Linked DNA regions of Homo sapiens: region 2 is linked to region 1. Evidence: promoter capture Hi-C in 16 types of primary human blood cells and fetal thymus (Javierre and others, 2016). All regions are on one chromosome and are shown on one strand. Each heading gives the region's core, a stretch centred on a gene start or on the middle of the fragment in contact. The rest is flanking DNA. Distances are from core to core; before and after follow the strand shown.

What was found. The method cuts DNA at HindIII sites, captures the fragments that hold promoters and counts their contacts. A CHiCAGO score of 5 or more calls a contact.
Region 2: a contact is called between a fragment that was not itself captured here and the fragment with the promoter of CDON in region 1, in 1 of 17 cell types (activated CD4 T cells). The highest score is 7.5, in activated CD4 T cells.

The regions. Positions count from the first base shown.
Region 1 is chr11:126,061,355-126,064,751 of GRCh38, reverse strand. CDON (cell adhesion associated, oncogene regulated) reads left to right here and starts at 1,886. Exons shown (of 20, transcript NM_001378964.1): 1 at 1,886-2,173. RefSeq lists silencers at 1,299-1,388, 1,459-2,128. The HindIII fragment of the contact is 2,855 bases long and covers 1-2,693 here.
Region 2 is chr11:124,955,668-124,959,064 of GRCh38, reverse strand. The region is part of intron 2 of CCDC15 (coiled-coil domain containing 15); the gene reads right to left. Among named protein-coding and RNA genes, the nearest start is that of CCDC15, 3.2 kb to the right of the region's middle. The HindIII fragment of the contact is 1,387 bases long and covers 807-2,193 here.

The DNA.
Region 1 (3,397 bases), core at 637-3,136:
GTAACAGTAGGCATAGTGAATTCAAATGGCACTGTGAGATCTGGAGGTGCACAAAGTGCATTATGTCCCAGGAGAAGAACCTGGAATTCTCTGTAGCCACAATAAATTTGCAAGACTTCTATTAACATCCACACAAAACTCTCATTTCAGTTAAATCCTCTATAGAAAGACTTACTTGCCGAATGAAAAATCGTTTACCATAGCTTGTTAATAACATATAGATTCTTGGTCTCCAAAAGTGAACAATAGAACAGTGGAGGACAAACTAGAGTTAAGAGTTTTTTTCTGGCTGGGTGTGGTGGCTCACGCCTGTAATCCCAGCACTTTGGGAGGCCAAGGCGGGAGAATCATCTGAGGTCAGGAGTTCAAGACCAACCTGGCCAACATGGCAAAACCCCGTTTCTACTGAAAATACAAAAATTAGCCGGGTGTGGTGGCACGTGCTGTAATCCCAGCTACTTGGGAGGCTGAGGCAGGAGAATCGCTTGCACTCGGGAGGCGGAGGTTGCAGTGAGCCAAGATCGCACCATTGCACTCCAGCCTGGGCAACAAGAGCACCCCAGCCTGGGCGACAGAGTGAGACTCCGTCTTAAGAAAAAAAATTGTGTTTTTTTTTTCCGTCCTGTACTGACTTTCTTTCCAGGGGCTTTACAAAAACCCTGAATCTAGCTAATGCAGAAAGCTAACCTGCTTGAACAATACCACACTTTCAAAGCATTTCTTTTTAAAATTCACGTAAGAAGGTAAGGGAGGACTGGCATATTTCTCCTGAAGTTCAGTACTGAGTATTTATAAACTTAACTATTATTAGGGATCCTTTTGTAGTTAAGCTAATAGTAAGTAATGATGATGGGGAAAAAAAAGAGCTAACTGCTAATAATAACAATTTATAAAGAAGTTACAGTCCTTGAATGCCCACTGAGTGGCAGGTGCTTTTCACAAAGTATCGTATTTACGCTTCACAGCAACATTTTGAATAGAAATTTATTTTTCCTTTTTCTGTTTGAACAACTGAAGTTCATTGAGTTCAGATAACTTGGGGCAGGTCCAACGGACGAGTTGGAAAGACTCTGGGGCCAAAGGCTCACACCACGCCTCTCCTAGCCCCTGAGTTTTGCTACCTGCTTGCGTTTATGTGCAGGCAGGGCGGGTGGGTGGTGGTGGGGGAATCAGATGAAGCTGCCTAAGGAATTAAACATGGAAAGTGGTGGAAAGGCGAAGGAGGTATAAGCGGTGGGCCGCTGGAACCCTAAGAGAGACCAGGCAAGAACCGGGAGAAGGGATGCACCCGTTGGCGGCTCAGAGAACTTAGGTAGAGGCGAGGGGCGGGGCGGGGCGAGGGGCGGGGCCTGAACGAGGCTAGGGCGGGGCCCGAACGAGGCTAGGGCGGGGCCCGAACGAGGCTAGGGCGGGGCCTCGGGGGACAGAGTCGACCATTTGGAGACCTGCCAGAAGAGCCGTCTCTCCAAGGGAATGAAAGGTGAGGGGAGCGTGAGTGCAGGCATGATGGGAATCTCCGTGACTTGGTAAGGCAACTCACCCTTACCTGTCCTACACCCAAGAAAAGCCTCTTCTATGCTCCCCTGGGGTATCTCTCTTGCAGAGTAGGCAGGTCAATGACGAGGAGAGGGTCCTGCCCAGAGCGTGCCCCCCTCCGTCACTTGGTACGGCCCGTGCCCCCGCCGCTGATCTGGCAGGCTGCGCGCGCACACTCCGGCCGGGTGCGGGCCGGCGGGGCACAGCGGCCTCTACGGCCCGCCTCCGTCAGTCATTCCCCGGTCCCTCCTCCCGCTGCTCGCGTGCTCCGGGCCGGCCCAGCACCCTCCGAGTTACGTGCCCGCGCTCCCCGGCGGGGAGGAGCGCAGCCGCGGGGGCGCGCCCCGGTGACTCCGCCCCTCAGCTCCCCTCCCCTGAGCCCGGGAGCCCGGCTCGCGCGGCTAGGTGCGAGGAGACCCGGGACCCCACGCCCGCCCGCCCTGCCCAGCGCCCCAGCCCCGGCGTGCGAGGCGCCGCTCCCTCCTCTGCCCTGCGCGGTGCATGGAGGGGCCCGTTCGGATCGCAGCCGCCGCCACCGTAGCCGCCGCCGCGCGCGCGCGGGGGGATGACCTGGGGGTGGCTTTCCGAGCCGGCTGCAGCGCAGGAGGTCTGGAGGCTTAGCCAGCCCCGCGGAGAGGTGCGGGGGTGGGGGTCCCGCCGCAGGGTCGGAGGGAGGGGTGGCGCGCGGGCACTGGGCTTGGGGGGCCTTGGCTTAGGGGACGGGAGGTCCCGGGGACGGGCGGGCCGGCGTTCCCTGGAGGGCGTGGGGGTGCAGGGCTGCGTGCGGGGTCTGGATGCTGATGCTTGCCCGGCGGGGAGCCCCGGCGTTCCGCGTCCTCGGGGGCTCGGAGGCACCTCGCGGGAGGAGGCGGGGTGAGGTGTCAGTGACACGACGAAACCTCTTCTTGACGATGGTCCTCGGGGGCAGGTGAGATGCCGCAGAGCGGGGAGCTAGGGCGCCCGCGCGTTTTCCCAAGGGAGCCGGGTCCCTGGCCTCTCTCAATCTCCATCCCTGCAGAGCGCCCGCGAGAGACAGTGATTTATGTGTAGGGAGAAGCAAGAGAAATTTCCTGCACAATGTATCTTTCTCTGCCTTCACAAGACTCACTGACTTCCCAGCCCCAGGGAGTGTATTTTTCCTTCTCCTCTGTAAAGCTTTCTGTGGATTGCATTATCATTTGCTAAATACATTACAGCTCGCTATTTATTTCAGTCGGCAGCTTCCAGACCTTTGTTGCTTTCTCTCCACATCTAGGAATTTCAGCAATAAATCACTGAGGGGGATAGATAGACTCTCTTGCCCTTCCCTTCATTGTTCTCCCTAACCCCACCAAATCAGGTGGAAGGCTCTCCAAAAGGAGCTGTTTCCAGAATGCCTGCCCTTCCTCATCAGGACGACAGAGGGTGGCAGGTGCTTTAAGGGCAGACTGCTTTCCAGTGGGAATCCAGAATTTAGAGAACCTCATCAACAGAAAGTCAGCCTTTGTGTCCCAAACCAGACACCTTGAAAAACAGGAGGTTGGACTAAAAGCTCACATGAGATTTATTTTCAGGCCTATGCCAGTAAAGATGAAAGACGCCAAGTCAGTGAATTCTGATTCCTTTCGGCGCTGATAACATAACCCTCAAATTCCCAACTGACACTTGGCATACCTAGTGGACAGTGTCTCCAAGGAGAGGAAGGTGGGGAGGGTGTTAGAAAATGAAATGAGTTTATTGTCAGCATAATTCTAAACATTCTATGACATTTTGTAGTTCTCCCCCACCCTCAGTCTATTTTTAGCTGAAAATTTGGGGATAGTTCAACTTTTAAGATAAGATGAAAGAAAACCTTCAAAAAATTTTCTGGAAATTTTAAATT
Region 2 (3,397 bases), core at 251-2,750, 1.1 Mb after region 1:
ATTAGGGCTGTTTTAAACACAAAACAGTCAGGATAAGGATACAATCCTGAAAAAAATAATTCCATTCTGTACAAAAAAAAATGGAATGTATGAGTATCAAATCTTAAATTTTTTATTGAATTAGAACTAACGATGTCTTCATTAAATCTTAATGAACCAAATAAAACCTAACACGTTACACATTTTCTAAAATGGAGTAAATAGTCAAGACACACCAGGTTACTTACCACTCACCAAATATGTCCTATTGTTAAAATGTCTTCATATTTGGCATTATGCTCCATTTTTAACCTGGCATGCCCTTCCTTTCATCTCCACCTAGTAAAGGCCTATTCAGTTTTCACAACCATTTAATACCCACTCCCCAGTACCTTCCACAACACTCTCTCTCTAAGCCCTCTTATGCTATAACACCTCTCATTTCACCAATGTTAACTGAGTATAGTACTTCTTGACTCCCCTACTAGATTATGAACTCTTTGAGGACAGGATATGTATTCAATTCTCCTTTATTTCCCCTACGGCATCTAGTACAGAGCCTTCACTATAAGGGTAGTCAATATATATTTATATAATTGCTCAATTCCAAAACATATTCTAAACCAGGGGTGTCCAATATTTTGGCTTCCCTGGGCCATGTTGGAAGAACTGTCACATAAAATACATTAACACTAGTAGCTGATGAGAAAAAAAAAAATCACAAAAAAACTCATAGTGTTAATTAAGAAAATTTATTAATTTACATTGGGTCGCATTCAAAGCCATCCTGGGCCACATGTGGCCCATGGCCGCATGTTGGACAAGCTTGTTCTGAACAATCTGGAACACTTTATCCCATTTGAGTTCTTGATCTGCATTTATCTCCTCTAAGTGCTTTGAATAATAATCATAGTCATCATCATAACAGCACTTATCATTATTATGGATCTATCAGGTGACAAGTATTTTAACTACTTTGTAGCACTCTATCCTCAAAACCACCTTTGGCAGTAGGTATTCTTATCCCTTATGTTACAGATGAGGAAGCTGGAGTTCAGAAAGATTAAGTAATTTTAATATAGCTAACTAGTAGCAGAATTAGAAGTTTCTGACTCCAACAATTATGTTCCTCTCTACACTGCTTTTCTCTTGACTATGTCTCTCTTTCACTAGGAATTTTCAAATTAAATAAAATCATCATCATATCTCGTACCTATTCCTTCTAACTCAGTGATTCCAACTTCTAATTCTGAAGGGTACCTCAGATCATTTTACAGGCTGTCATTAAATTCTCAAAATCAAATGCATTCAAATTTCAATTTAAGTTAAAATTTCCAAGATGTCTATCCCATAAACTACTCTAGTGGAGTGTACAAGTGTCAAAGAACAATTAGGTAAAATAATTCCAACGGAGAGATATATACGTAATGAAGCCTGAACAACTGACCCAGCTTAACTCAAGCCCCAGACAAGTTTAAGCCATTCGGCCTCTTTCTTTTACCTCCATTTTCTCTGCTCCTCTTTTACTCCACAAGATTACAAGCCAGGTCATAAAGAAACTTCCACCTCTGTTCTTAGAGTGCTCATTCTGAAGGAAGTCAGCACCATATAAAAATTCAGACTACCCTGAGATTACCATGCTGTGAGGAAGCCCAAGTTAGTCAAACAGAGAAGCCATGTGAAAAGAGAAACATATCTAACCAGCACCCAGACATTCTAGTCATCCTAGGCCAAGCGTCAGATATGTGAATAAGAAAGCCATCTTGGACATTACAGCCCAGCAGGTGCCACATTACTGGGAGAACTTGACTATTGTCTAGCTCCAGCCAATAGCCGGAAAATAGTCAAGGTGTCTCAGACATGTCCAGTTATTTGAGCCCCAGCTGAGGTCCCAGACACTATGGGGCAGAAACAAGCCATTACCACTGTACCCTGCTCAAATTCCTGTTACATAGTATTATTTGCTTTATACCACTAAGTTCTGGGGTGGTTGGTTACACAGCAAAAGGTAACCAGAACAAATTATAAAATAATGCAATCCCATATATGATGATAGAACAGCAGTGTCTTTTGATGCTAATTTATTAATAATTATTGGGGGGAGGTAGTCTAAAGCTATGACATTTTTAGGAATCCTGATGGCCCCCTGAAATTTTGGGGAGAAAAATGAGTAGAAGTTCCCCTTTAGAACAGACATGATCTAAGGGCCAAGCTTTAGAAGTAACTATTCAGCATTTATTTTGAGCTGACAGAGCTATATCCGTTAATAAGGGTGGATACCCAGACTAGATATGCTAAAGCTATAAGGAGTTCTATTAGATGCTTGATCAAACTCCCTTTGGCTGGAACTGATCAGAAATTTTTAAATCAGGAAAAGGAGATATGTTTATCCATGTTCCAAGACTTTAATATTTTGAGTTAATGTGTGTGAATACGATAGTCAATACTTCTTAACATAGAAAAAGTTTGATGGTGTCAAATTTTAGGCATGTTGACACTACTGATATTATACAGATGTAATTTGAGCAATTACAAAGAGGTGTCAACAACTTAAATACCAAAATATCTTTATACCAAATCTTACCAAGTCTTGTGGGGTGTTTCCTGCATTCATCCCTTCTCATTCCACTCCTTTTTTTTTTCCAGAGATGGGGTCTCACTCTATTGCCCAGGCTAGAGTGCAGTAGTATGATCATAGTTCACTGCAGCCTACAATTCGTGGGCTCAAGCACTTCAATCATCCTTTTTCAAGGCTGTTCTTCTCTATTTCTTACCACTAACAAAGTTTCGATGCTATACTCCATGCTTAAATTATTATAATTATATTCTAATTTATCCCCAGGATCCAATCACTCCCTATCCTTCAAAACCTTTGAAGCAATTCATCTAAAGAAAACACTGGTTGATCATGACATTCACCTGTAAATATTAAACAAAGTCAATCCCTTCTCCAAAATTTCCTAAGGTACTCTACCATCCCTATTTTCCATAATCCTGTCAGCAACCATTCTCCTACTAAGCTTTCCACTCCAATCGATCTAATCTACCCTTAGAATCCTGAACCTTGCTTACTTCTTACTCTCCTCATTCTCCTTAATAGGAGAATCATTCCCTTCCCTTCTCCGATCAAATTCTTCATTACACTTTCCTGGGTCACATCAACCCAACGTCATAGCTTCTTGATTGAGCATTATATTCTTAGAACTTAGATAGAGATACCACCTAGACTCTTAAAATCCTTTTTGGAAATAGGCAGGGTAGGAATAAATCAATGAATATACATACATATGTGCAAACATAAATAAAATGAATATAGTATATTGCATTACTTTAACATTTAAACACATCTCATTTCTCTTCTGAGATCAAGTACACTGAGGGAACATATCTCATCCTTTTTTCATCCATGTTCAGCACC